2 separate regions of the Homo sapiens genome follow, and region 2 is linked to region 1. Evidence: promoter capture Hi-C in human tissues and cell types (Jung and others, 2019). All regions are on one chromosome and are shown on one strand. Each heading gives the region's core, a stretch centred on a gene start or on the middle of the fragment in contact. The rest is flanking DNA. Distances are from core to core; before and after follow the strand shown. Region 1 holds the start of GOPC (golgi associated PDZ and coiled-coil motif containing). Region 2 overlaps CEP85L (centrosomal protein 85L).

Region 1 (6,920 bases), core at 2,538-5,037:
GGTCTCAAACTCCTAGATTCAAGAAATCCTCCCACCTCAGCCTCTCAAGTAGTTGTGACTACAGGTGCACACCGCCACACCCAGATCCCTTTGTTTATATAAGGGAAATAATCAGGAGAATAAGGCTAATAAATCCCTTTGGATTCCTAAACTTACTTCTTTAGCATATGTATCTGAAATTTTCAAAACTGTTGGTAATATGAATAATAAATTCAATAAATATAAATAATATGTATGAATACAACACTCCAAACCTTTCCTACATTGATTAAATAAAATGCTAGTGGATTTTTACTTTCTTCATTCACCATACATACAACTTGTTATAGCCACTAACAGCATATACTTAACCCCTTCTCTTGGTAGGGTTACTGGAAACTAAATGAAACACGTGAAGTTAGGTACAGGGCCTGGAACACAGTAGAGTTCAATAAGTGATAATCTCCCTCTCCAGTCCAAGGTGGGTCTTATACACCCTTTTATTACAGTGCCCTTGCAATCAATGATGCTCCATAAATATTTAAACTATACACTGACCCCGCAGTTAATTACCAGTACCTATCAAAGAAACCCTTAGCATCATCTCTCTTTCCCCAATTTCCTCAGTCTCCAACCAATTTATTTTTAGTAATGCCTTGTGACAAAACTCTGTAGGGATAAGTTCCTAAAACAAGAGTGTCACATTTAAGTTATATTTTTTAAAAATCACATAAGCATGATTCATAAAACAGTTATTGGAAGCTTCTGCCAATCCAACTGCAAATAGAAGTATCAAGACTTTAATATCTGTGGAAAAACAAATCGCTCAAGTATTGACATTACATGCAATCTCCAATTCCAGAGTAGGTAAGGATAAGGCAGTAAGTGTAGATAGAGTACACCGACAACAGATGGCAGCACTTGAACATCAAGCCCCGATGATAAGCCCTCCTTTTCACATCCATGTTCTGCTGTGACTTGCAGATTTGCATAACCTCAATCCAGGTGGGCAAAAGATTATGTCTACATACTACAGTAATGAGAAGGGACAACATGACATGAAACTCGTCTGAGACACAGATGAGTCTATGACTTGTTGAAGTTGTAAAGGTAATAGATACGAAGCTGGGTTCTGCAATCTCGAAAATGGGGGTACCCACAAACCATTAGAGCACTGGAAACATATAAACACTTAAAATGTCACTCAGCTGCACCCACACAATGTAGCTGGAAGTTGATTTTTTAAAGAAATGAAATTTATACTCAAGTGTGGTTCATATAAATTAGAGTTACAAGTAATAGAAAATGAGTTATTACAATTTTTGGTAATGGTTCTTATATGTTAATAGATTTGTATATGGTTTCTAACTAGGAAGAAATTAAAAAGAACTTTTGGAACTTACTTGCTAGTTTATTATACTGCTAACTTTTACAAGAAGAAATAGATTCCTTCATTCTTCTGTATTACATGGTTAACAGCAACAACTTAGGAGAAAAAGACACCTAGATTGATATACTACCTCAATCTCTTTCTAGTTTTGTGACCTTACCAAGACACTTAAGCTGTCTGTGACTTTAGCTGTTAAAAAGTGATTACTGGGTGTGGTGGCTCACACCTGTAATCCCAGCACTTTTGGAGGCCTAAGCAGGAGGATTGTTTGAGTCCAGGAGTTCCAGACCAGCCTGGTCAACAAAGTGAGGCTGCAGTGAGCTGTGATCGTGCCACTGCACTGCAGCATGGGCGACAGAGCAAGATCCTGTCTCAACAACAACAATAAAAGACGTGATCATACCTACCTCATAGGATTTTGTAAGGATCAAAGAATTAAAGAAAATAGCATAATGCCTAACACATAGTAAGGACTCAATAATTGAAAGCTATTATAATTGTGGTTCGATGTATTCTCCCCCTGCCCTGCTAATTTTAAATTATTTACTTCGCGTTCCTGAAAATGCATTGCTAACTGTATTATGTGTAGATAAAGTGGCTGGGAGCTTGATAGCTGTAGCAATGTTTTTGCAAATATTGTAGATGAAAATAAAGCTAATTTTGGAAGGGAATGGGGAAAGATGTAAATTTTAGTTTTACATTATTTATTGTGTACTAAAACCTGTATGAAGGTCCCTACTTAAGTCTAAGGTCAGGATCTCATGATCCATTTTGATTAGCTAAGTTTGCTCAAGCCAAAGGACTTTATTGCTTCATGCTAACCAGTCTGCCATGCAGTACAAAGACTGCAATAATAAAATTGTGATTTCTTGCTCCTCAGTTGCCTTGCATCAGCGAAGGGCACACAATGCAGGCTTTGGGTTGTGATTAACCGTAAGGGTCTGCCCCAAGAACAGATAACAGCAGACTGCACTCAGCTAAATATGCTTCTAGGTAATGCAGGAGTTTCCACCAGCCTACTCTAATCACACAGGTTTCTCTTTCCCTTTCTAGGACTGTCTACCCTTGAACTGGAAGTAGGCAGAATGTAAAGAGAGGAGTTGCTGGATACTTTTAAAGGCACTGAAAAATTCAAGTTAAAGTTATAGTTGAGGGGTAGTAGCCTCACTAGCCTATCTTGAGTAAGGGTCATGTCTCATTCATTTTTGTGTCTTCAATGTCGCAACAGAGCTCTGCATTCAATATATTTGTAAATATATGAATTCACAATTTTGATTTTCTGAAATGTCACGTGTGAGGACACTACCAGTTTTCAAATAAATACACCTTTTAAAGTACAGTTATGTGCCAAATAACAAGGCTTCAGCAATGAATGGATCGCATAAACTATGGTGATCCTATAAGAGTATATGACTGTACCTTTTCTATGTTTAGATATGTTTAAGTACACAAATAGTTACCACTGTGTTATAATCGCCTACCGTATCCAGAATGGCAACATGCTGTACAGGTTTACAGCCTAAGAGCAATAGGCTACATCATATAGCCTGGGTGTGTAGTAGGCTATACTATCTAGGTTTGTGTTTAAATACACTCTAGGATGTTCCCTAAGGGATGATTAACCTAAGGACACATTCCTAAGAACATATCCCCATCTTAAGTGAAGCACTACTGTAGTTGCTTTTGAAATGTGTGACCTATGGTGTATTAAGAGGAATACCGTGTGCCAAGAAGTGACGCTAAGCGTTTTACCTTACAACTGAGTTAAGTAAAATTTGGAAACTTGGTTTCGAGGTTAATACATGAAAGGCGACACAGGTAGTATGTGACAGAGGGTAAGAATTGAATCCAGGTCTACCTGACTCTTAATCACAAGACAAAAAGTCTTCTATTAATTCCGCAAAATCTGGTCAGCCGCTTCAATGCGCAGCTTTAGGCAGTCCACACCTGGAATTTGGGGTCTGGTTTACCAAGAACAGCCAGTGTGTACACCCACTCCATCCTATCCAGGAACTGGAATCGAGAAGGTAAAAACGTGGCTATTGCGCATGCTCACACCGCCCTTCCTTGCTCTCCCCTCCCTGACCCTAGATGCCACCGCAGCAACTTTCTGGGAGGATTTTGGAACGGCTCCCGCCAACTGTTAAGTCAAACCGGCGGAAATCCTTCCTTTCTGCGACGTGGACACCTTTCTCATCCTCGGGCCTTTCCAACCAGGGTGCAGAAACCACGCGCCTCCGTTTCTCAGGGATTCAAGCCGTAGTTTGCCAGTTGTTAATATGGCCGCTGACAGGCCGCTCCCAAGCTGAGGCCTTTCATAGGCCAAGATCGCATCCTGTCCCCGCCTATTTTGTCCCTCGTGGCTGCGTCCGCCCAGCTCTTCGCTACGCATGCGCAGCGGGGGCAGGCTGGGAGGTGGGACTGACTGAGTCTTCCGTGTGTCGCCGCCGTTGCCGCCTCAGCTTCAGCCTCGTTACTCCTGCGGTTCTGTGACTGTGCTGCTGGCGTTAACGGCGCGAGGTGAAGGGAGGTGACGGAGTGTGCCCGCGCGCGCGGGGGTCCCCTCAGTCCCAGCAGTTCCCTTCGTGCGCGGGGGGCGGCGAGGGTCTTCAGCAGTCGGGAGAGGCCCTTGACGGCGCCATGTCGGCGGGCGGTCCATGCCCAGCAGCAGCCGGAGGGGGCCCAGGGGGCGCCTCCTGCTCCGTGGGGGCCCCTGGCGGGGTATCCATGTTCCGGTGGCTGGAGGTGCTGGAGAAGGAGTTCGACAAAGCTTTTGTGGATGTGGATCTGCTCCTGGGAGAGATCGATCCAGACCAAGCGGACATCACTTATGAGGGGCGACAGAAGATGACCAGCCTGAGCTCCTGCTTTGCACAGCTTTGCCACAAAGCCCAGTCTGTGTCTCAAATCAACCACAAGCTGGAGGTGAGCCGTGGGTGCTGGCGGCTATGGCATCCAACCCCAGGCTGCCCGGTGGCGTCAGATGCCATTTAACGCTCCAGTGAAACGACCCTAGAAAACTGCCCACCGGGGCTTCAAATGTGATGGGAGAGTGCATGTCTGAGGAGTGAGGTGAGGGTGGGGGACAAAAAGGGCCCTAGACCGACGTGTGAGTTCCCGGGGTACTGTCGTCCACCTTCCTAGTATCTCTCTGAGGAGGAAACTAATTACATACACCAGCCTCCATTGCACATGTTACATTAACAAACCTAACAAAGATTCTCTGTCATGAAAATACCGTAGGCCACCTTTTGACAACTGAGTTTTGCAGATCTGCTTTCACATTGATAAACCGAATTTGTATATGTTAAGACAGATACAGCACTGATTATTTTCATTTTAATTATTCCAGGTCAGCGCCTATGATTGCATACAGAGACATGCATAAACTATTTAGGGGAATCTGATCAAAGCTCTTAGGAAAATTTCGTGGTGCATAACGATAGTATCACTGTCTCGGTTTACATCCATAGTTGGTTGTTAAATTACAGGCAGATACCTCCAGAGAGCTCCCTGCAATTATTGAAATTACTTCTGACCTTGAGTTTTTATATGCTTGTACATTACTGTGTAATTTTCCAAAGTCTGGATTTATTTTTGAGAGAGTGTAAAGAATCATTTGCTTTAATCTCTGATCCTGGGTGTGGGTGAGGGTGGAGTGGCTGTGGTTCAAAAAAACAAAAATATCATATTGTGCAGAAAATTTAAAAAGGACATTATTAAAATATTTAGAAATCAAGATAGATTAACATTATTGCATAAAGAGTACTTTCTAACTAGGCAATTTAAGAGAATGGGTCTTTCTTTTCAAAAAGTGTAATAGATAAAAATGGGATAATCAGTGATGTGCAAAACTCTGAACATGCTTTCCTAAGAAATCATCATTACTCGTTGTCATTGACAGTGCCCATTATATCTATATCAATATGAATGTCAGTTAAACATCCTCTCCTTGCCTAGTGGTCAGCATTCTTTCTCTCCTATTAGCCATGAAATATGTGGCATAATTAATCTTTGATTAACATAGATTTACATATCCAAGAATTGTGGCTCTTCTCCACTGCGAGAACTGTTAATTTCTTCTATCCTTTTTGAAAAGATTAGAAAGTGCTAATATGAAGGTAATCACTTCTTACTGTAGGTAAATGAAAACATCTCTTGATTTCTTTATTGGTAGTAATTTCCACAAGAAAGCTATTTTTCTCAGATAGTGAAATTGCATTTAATGTTTTCTAGAAATAGTACTTTAACTTTATTTCATCTTATTTTATCTTATTATATTTTTTTCAAAAAAGAGATGGAGTGCTTTGTTGCCCAGTTTGGTCTTGAATTCCTGGCCTCAGGTGATCCTCCTGCCTTGGCCTCCCAAAGTGCTTTGATTACAGACATGAGCTACTGTGCCTGGCCATTAGTTCTCTAGCTTTAAACAACAAAGATCAAGAGTAGCCTTTACCACATGGTATAATTCGAATGTGTCCCCCAAATTTCGTGTATGGGAAACTTAATCCTCAATGTGACAGTATTGAATCTCCAATGTGGGGCCTTTAAGAGGAGACTGGATCATGAGTACTCTGTTCTTATGAATGGATTAATCCACTTATAGATTGATTTGTTATTGGATAAATGGATGAATGAGTTATCATAGGAGTGTAGAACTGGTGGTTTATAAGAAGAGGAAGAAAGACCTGAGTAAGCATGTTAGCATGCTCAGCCTCCTTGCCATGTGACACCCTATGCTGCCTCCATACTCTGCACAGATCCCCTGCCAGCAAGAAGGCTCTCGACTTCTCGAGATCTGGCCCCTCGACCTTGGACTTCTCTGTCTCCATAACTGTAAGAAATACATTCCTTTTCTTTATAAATTACCTAGTTTCTGGTATTCTGTTATAAGAAACAGAAAGTGGACTAAAACATCACACGAGAAATTTCATATCATTTACAACTGCAGTATCAACTGGGCATTAACAACTTTTTAAAAATGAAACAATATTTTATTTATTTTTAAAATGACCTAAGGAAACTTTAAACAGGGATTTGATGTCAGATATAAAAATTGAAATTGGGAGGAAGGATAATTTTCTCAGTAGGAGGCTGTGCTCCATTTTTTTTGTCTTTAAATATTTTAGATGAGTATTCAGAATTGTAATAAATTATGCATGTTCTTTTTTCAGAAATTAAAATCACACATTCTGACTTTATGTCCTGGTTTAGGAGGTTGCATTGTTTCTCAAAATAGGAAATGCTAGCATATCACAATGTGAGCATATTTTTTATGCTTGAAACTGTTGATTTAAAGATCATAGGAAAATGGGGAGGGGAAAAATCCTAATGATTTTGGTTTGTTTGTTCATTTGTTTGTGTTTTTTCAGTTACAGTCAACTTGTTTGTCTTTGATGTTAATCTGTACACGTTTAGCAGCTTCTGCCGTTTTTATGGAATCAATTGTGTATTGCTGTGGAAAGAAGTTCATTGTCAGCAGTGCCTTTCAAAGTAGACTTGCTGCTGTTCCATCTACAGAATTTCAGTGGTTGCTCCATATATTGTTTGAAAG
Region 2 (7,269 bases), core at 4,585-7,084, 1.0 Mb before region 1:
TATATATATATATTTTTAGTAGAGACAGGGTTTCACCGTGTTGGCCAGGCTGGTCTCGAACTCCTGACCTTAGGTGATCCACCCTGCTCAGCCTCCCAAAGTGCTGGTGTTACAGATGTGAACCACCGTGCCCAACCCAAGAAAGCCTATTAGCTTAGATTGAGCTAGATTTTAATGTAGGTATTTTTTAACTAGTGTGTTTATGTGAGAAAGTATACTTACTTGATGCTGCTAACCTTATTTTAGCTGAGTGAAAGCATCTTCAGTGACTGCTTAAGTTTAATTCCCAATCTTGGAATCTGATCTTACTTTATTCTTGATTCTTACTTTCTTCTGGCCTAGAATTTTACTTCTGGCTAGAACCTAACTTTTCATGTCTGAGCAGATCTTTGGATCTCTTTTGGGATTGGAGCAGCACAGTTTCTCAATTCACCTCCCCGTTTTGCTACCTGTTGTTTATTTTTATTTTTTTGACACATTTTACAAACCTTTCATAAAAAGGGTAGGGTATAGCAAATGTTTTGAGACCATAGAGAACCAATGGACTCCTTATTTTTTAGACATGCCTAACAGCAAAAATTTCACCCAAATGCTCCTATTTTATGTATGCAATATTTATTATACTTTATCAATTTTAAAATGTACTTTAAAAATGTTTTAGCATTTCTGATATATGGATGCATCATGTAATTCAGGGTGTCATTTAATTGGCATCCTTTTTTTTAGTGGTACATACAGTTGATATATTTTAAAAATTATTTTTTCCAACTCGCATATGCAGATACAAGAGTCATGTTGATTTCCAGTATGCCCTCTACATATTGAACGTTTCATTTGAAAGCATCATCTTTACCCTTATGGGGATCAATGGTTATTTTTTCAAACAGAAATGCTAGGTGACATATTACTGTCAGATCTAATTTTGTAATTTTTTTTTTTTCTCTTGCAAAAGGAATGTTGAAGTGTGTGCATGGGAGGCATCAGCTTGACTATTTTCTTGTTTGTTTATACTTACATTTTTAGTATTATCTTCAGGTTTTTCAACTTCAGGTTTCTTTGCAGTAATATAGAGCCACAAATCCATTTTGTGAGGGCTAGTTTAAGTAAAACTACCTAATGTTATCGATATGCAAATCTGCTTAACCAGCCATGAACTGCAATGCATACCCATACGAAAAAATCAAATGAACAAAGGAGGATGTCACCGTCAAGCCCTCTGTATAGAGCACCTCCGTTTATGTTATATATATGTAACATAATGCTCTGATAATCCAAGTAAGGGCACTAGTGTTAACCTGTATGTTAAATATTATAGCAAAATTTAATGCATTACTTTTTCCTAAAGATAATTTTCAGTATAAACAAGTTTTTTTCTTCCAGCAGCTTGCCAGTGGATTGGCTCGTGTACTCCCTGGCATGCATGTATTCACTTTGCAGATCATAGAGATAGAAAGCTTATGCTTAATCTCTTGGAATGATGTTAAAAAAGTGGTGGTTATCAGAGAGATGGGCATTGGGTTTGTGTTTTGAAGGAGATAAGTAGTTGTAAACATGCTAGTAAGATATTAAGAGAGAAGCTGGTGACAGTGTAGATGTCCTTGATTAAATAGGGAGGGAAAAGAGCAAGGTTAAAAACTTGGAAGAGAGTGGGGTACTGTACCTCATGAGGAGCAGAAGAATTATTGTTATGTGGTATTTGTCAGATGATTTTTTTCTTCTCATTATTAAAGTTACACATGCTCAGTAAAATGTTGACTCAGTACAGAAAAGCTTAAAGTGAAGTAAGCTTTTTTATCTACCTTTCATGTCAGTCCTCCACTCCATTTTTAATAGTTTTTAGTTATCCTTCTGGAAAATTTCTATGCATGGACAGTAATAAAAATAATAACATTTATTGAGATCCTAATTATATGTCTGGCACTTTCAAAAATATATTTACAGGCCAGGTGCAGTGGCTCACGCCTGTAATCCCAGTACTTTGGGAGGCTGAGCAGGCGGATCACTTGAGGTCAGGAGTTCGAGACCAGCCTGGCCAACATGGCGAAACCCCATCTCTACTTAAAAAAAACCTAAAAAATTAGCCAGACATGGTGGTGTGTGCCTGTAATCCGCACAACTTGGGAGGCTGAGGCAGGAGAATCTCTTGAACCTGGGGGATGAATGTTGCAGTGAGCCGAGACTGCACTACTGCACTCCATCCTGGGCAACTGAGAGAGGCTCTGTCTCAAAAACAATAACAACAACAAAAAACTTTACATGTTCATTGATCACAACAACCCTATAATATAGGTACTATTCTATAATTTTTTTCTTCTCTTACATATGAAGAAATTGAGGCACAGAGAGGTTAAGTGATTTATGAGGACTTACTGCTAATAAGAGGTAGAATGAACTTGAACCCAGGTAGCCTGGTTTCACAGTGCACACTGAGCTATACTGGTAATTCTGTGATAAAAGAAACAAACTAAGACTATTGGAGTCACTTACCCTAGAGATAAATAGTACTGAAATGGAGTGGAGGATTGGGATGGAGAAAATAACACTATGTGATGTTTCTGTCATCTTAGCTAGATATTCTGCAGTGTAGTTCCAGATTTGTTGGTTTTTTCTGTTTGGCTACTGTTAATATGAACGTTTTTTTCTTACCGTTTAATGTTCTAATTTTTTGTGTGAGTTTTGTGTCTTTTTAACCTATTGGAGACTGTTTTCCCATGTTAGGAATGTTGGCCATCAGATCTCTAAATTATTTAAAATTACCTTAAAAAAAGCTGCATTGATAAATATTTACTGATCTCTAAATAGATACTTAAATGCATACTGGCTCAAGGGATAGTTTAAAATATCCTGGATTTTAAAATAAGCAGACAACAACCACCAAACAAAACGCTTGTTTGAATCCTTTTTCTGAACACAAAGATATTTTTGTAGTTGTAATTGTAAGGCTTCCAAAATTCTAATTTTATTCTGTGAACATTTGTTAGGTATCCAGTGGTTATAATGACTACATTTATTGAGACCCTGTATAAGTGTGCAGCTCTTTGCTAGGTACTGGACACTAAAAAAAGTTGCCTTTCATTTTTCACAGTTTGGTGAGGGAGAAGAAAGTCATATACATATGGGTTAATATAATTTATTAAATGTTGTTGGAATTTTGAATAATATATTGGGAGTGAACAAAGTATTTAATGCCACCTGGAGGAATCAGGGAAGACAGAACAAGTTAATTCTGAACTAGGACTCTTAAGGTGCAGAAGTGAAACAGCTTGGAGTCATGAAAGAGTCTCATCTGTTTGGAGGAAGTGATTAGGTAAGTGTGGCTAGATAGTTTTTGTAGGTAGAAGTTGCAAAGTGAAGCTGACAATTGGTGAAGAACTTTGCCTAACTTAAGGAGTTTGAATTTATTTAATATGCCGTAAGGGGCTCACAGATCTATGTAAGTAGAAGAATAACATAAACATGCTTGATTCTAGAAGATAGTAGAGTAGAGGCTGGCTTGAGTGGAGTTATTCCAGCAGCAGAATAGGTTCTTTGTGCAAAAGTACTTGTTAATATTTCAGAGATGTTAAAATGTGAACCGCGTGCTACTTATGTAATATAAGGGTAAACATGCTTTATCTACTATTTTATTTGAAAGTGTTGGTTTCCAAGTTGATTTTAAAACATACTAATGGGTGACAGATAATCTGCATTCTGAAAAACATTGCAATTTGTATTCTCGATTTGTATTATGTATTCAGCTTATTTAAAAGTATAAATCTGCTTTGTCAGTAGTGTTATTTTTATTTTCTTCAATTTAGAGCTGTCATTAAAATATTCAATGAGAGTAGTTCTTGTTCTCAGTGCAGTTACATATATATTCAAATGCTGTGGAATACTTGATACTGTATGCATTTTTGCTTCCAATAAAAGAGCTTCAGAAGTAAAATAGGTTGCTTTTTTATTTAATGCTAATCTTCCTGTCTGAGAAATATTCAGAATTTTTAATGTTATCCGCAGGCACTCAGTATTCTATTAAAATAATTAAAATTAGTATTAAAAAATTAGTATTGAAAAATGTAACATATTGTCTTCCAAGGAGGAGTTCCAATGTAGAGTTTCTTGGGATCTTTGCTGTTCTTACAGCAGTCCTTTTGTCTTTAGGTAAGACATTATTGCCAGAGGTTATTCAGCCTTATTTTGAGTTTTTAAGTGCATATTGCATACTAGATATCAATATTCCCATTTCAGTAACATAGTCTTGTAACTATTCTGTGAGAAAATTTTCCTTATTAAATCACCTGGTCAGCATATTTCACATGTACTTCTTCCTGTATTGTGCTTCTGGATTGACTTGTCTAAAGACAAGTCATGTCATTCTTTTCAGACTGTGAATTTTTTCAGTTTAAATTAAAAGATTAGAATGTTATTTTCATGACATTTGTTAATCATCTTCAGTGTTTGAGGCACATACAATACCAGATCTTCTTTTTAAAGACATAGTTATGTTTAAAGGTTAAGGCAAATTAGTTCAGGTGGGAGGAGATCAATTTATATAGTTAATTCTTTTCCTTTTTTTTTTTTTGAGACGGTCTCACTATGTTGCCCAGGCTGGTCTCGAACTCCTGGGCTTAAGCAATCTTACCTTGGCTTCCTGAGTAGCTGGTATTACAGGCATGTGCTACACATGATGTATATTGCCTAATAGCCTATCAAAAGGTTGTGTTTTTGTAATGAATAAATTAACATTACCATTATCAGTGTATGGGAGTATCTAGGAACACTGTTGTTTTGTTCTTTTAACATTTTTGCTAGATTGATAGCTGAAAAATAGCATGTCTTCTGAATTTGATACTACTTGCTTACCAGTGGGCTTGGACTATTTTTCAGAATTTTTTATTTGTGTTTTTCCCTTTGGGGTTTGTCCTTTGTCCATTTAGACTAAACCATTTAGTATTTATTTATTTATTTTTAGTTTGCTTATGATCTCTTTATAATTATGCATTAATACCATATCTGCAAATATTTTTAGTGTTTGCCTTTAACTTCTTAAATATATAGACAACTTTTTTTTTTTTTTTTTTTTTTTGAGACAGTCTTGCTTTATTACCCAGGCTGGAGTGTAGTGGCATGATCTCGGCTTACTGCAGCCTCCACCTCCTGGGTTCAAGTAGCTTAGCTTCCCAGGTAGCTGAGACTACAGGCATGTGCCACCATGCACAGAGGCATTTTTTTGAATTTTTTTTTTTTTTTCTTTTGTAGAGATGGGCTTTTGCCATGTTTTCCAGGCTGGTCTTAAACTCTTGAACTCAAGCTGTCTGCCAGCGTTGGCCTCCCAAAGTGCTGGGATTACAGGTGTGAGCCACCTTGCCCGGCCTAGACAACAATTTGATGATTTATGTGGTTTGCTTACTTTTTGTGTCCTTCTGTAAAAGTCAGAGGTTCAAGTTTATAAGGTGGCAGTACACTGAAAGAAATTTTAGGAAGATCATTTCCCTGAGTTGCTAAATAAAAAGGCTCTAAGTATGTATGTACTGCTCTGTGATTCAAAGATAGAATTTAGGGTTTCTAGAGGGGCGGAATGATAGCATGTCTTAGACCATTTTCTCTGTCATTTCTTATAGCTTTTTTTGTATAAAAGTTAGATAACAGATAGTTGAGATTGTACTGATGTGCTTTGGAAATCTGTGGAATAGGTATCATATTGAGTAGATGATATTGAAATACTGTAATGGAAATTGAGGATTACAACTATTGTTCTTTTCTAAATAGAAGGCTGTCCCCACTTTTTCATATCTGTAGGCAAGATTAGAATTTTTCTAGTTTTCCCAATATTGTATTGAAGTTCTCCAGAGAAACAGAGCCAATAGCATTTAATTAATTAATTAAGAATTGGCTCATGAGATTATGGTGGCTGACAGGTCCCAAGATCTGTGAGGTGATTTGGCAAGCTGGAGACCTGGGATTGTTGATAGCATAGTTCCAGTCTGAAGGCTGGCAGGCTCAAGCCCCAGGAAGAGATCAGTTCAAGCTTGAAGGTAGGAAAAAGCCAGTGTACTAGTGTATTTAATCAAAGGGGATCAGGCAGGAAGAATTCTCTTCTGCTTAGGGGATGGTTAGCTTTTTTGTTGTGTTCAGGCCTTCAGCTGGTTCAGTGAAGCCCACCCACATTATGGAGGGCAGTCTGCCTTATCCAGTCGACCAATCTGAATGTTGAGCTCATCCAAACACCTTCACGGAAGTAATGTTTGACTGCATATCTGGGCACCCCATGGTCCAGTCAAGTTGTCATGTAAAATTAACCATCACACATATTTGACATTGTCCAGGAGTTCCATACCATATGGATAAACTGAGATCATTTATTCTGGAAAAAGAAACCTAAAACACTTGTTGACATTTATTTGTCTTTGTAATCCTTGAAAAACCTCAGTAGTGCTTTCATGAATTGTCAGATTCTGGGCAGCCTGGCTTGCTGATATGTACTCTAGGATGAGCTCACTTTTCTTCCAAATAAAGAAATGAATTAATATGCTGGCTGTAGTTACTTATGAATCAGTTGAATTTTAGGGACTCTTTTCAGTTAGAATGATTTTTTACCACATCTCAGGAGTCTGCAAACTGGCCCCCAGGTTTCATTGGACTTGTCACCTGTTTTTGTAAATAAAGTTTTATTACAACATAGCCACATCCATTTTATTGTCTACAGCTGATTTAGACTACAGTGGCAGAATTGGCTAGTTGAGACGGAGATTGAGTGACCCACAAAACTGAAAATATTTACAATCTGGCTCTTGACAGAAAAAGGTTTTATTGAACTGTTTTTCTGGCAATAGTTAATTATACAAGACTAATGATTGAAGGTTGTCCTAGCTTGTGATAATAACACCATAGCATTAATATGTACAGTGGGCTTTCCTCCCCATTACTGGAGTGAGAAAGTGAGTGAGTGGAGAGAGAGTGAGAGAGAGAATGATTATTGCCTTTTAATCCACAAATGGTTTATTGGCCAAGACTTGTCAACAATCAATAGGGTGGAGGTGTGTTGTAGGCTTTAATGGAGCATGACTTTATACTGCTCAAAATAGTTATATTGCCTAAAAGCAAGGGTTTTAATTCTAGCCATTTTATGCAGCTTTTGTAAAAATTGTTACTAGGAATCTGAATTTGCGTATCTTGAGCTATAGCTGGTTTCTAATCTCAGAATCAAATGTTGATGTAATCTGCAAATCAGTATGCATAATTTTCAGCATTTCCCCACATAAACTGGTAGATTGAATAATAATAATAACC

The links. The method cuts DNA at HindIII sites, captures the fragments that hold promoters and counts their contacts. A contact is called where the count stands out against the background at its distance.
Region 2: a fragment that was not itself captured here is called in contact with the fragment with the promoter of GOPC in region 1 in 1 of the 25 tissues and cell types used here (dorsolateral prefrontal cortex).

The regions. Positions count from the first base shown.
Region 1 is chr6:117,599,378-117,606,297 of GRCh38, reverse strand. It overlaps GOPC (golgi associated PDZ and coiled-coil motif containing), which reads left to right and starts at 3,787. Exons shown (of 9, transcript NM_020399.4): 1 at 3,787-4,294. The coding sequence starts at 4,010. It also overlaps the pseudogene NEPNP. RefSeq lists enhancers at 3,396-3,685, 3,816-3,905. The HindIII fragment of the contact is 7,482 bases long and covers 1-5,530 here.
Region 2 is chr6:118,635,500-118,642,768 of GRCh38, reverse strand. All of the region lies in intron 1 of CEP85L (centrosomal protein 85L), which reads left to right. Among named protein-coding and RNA genes, the nearest start is that of CEP85L, 12 kb to the left of the region's middle. The HindIII fragment of the contact is 3,873 bases long and covers 3,898-7,269 here.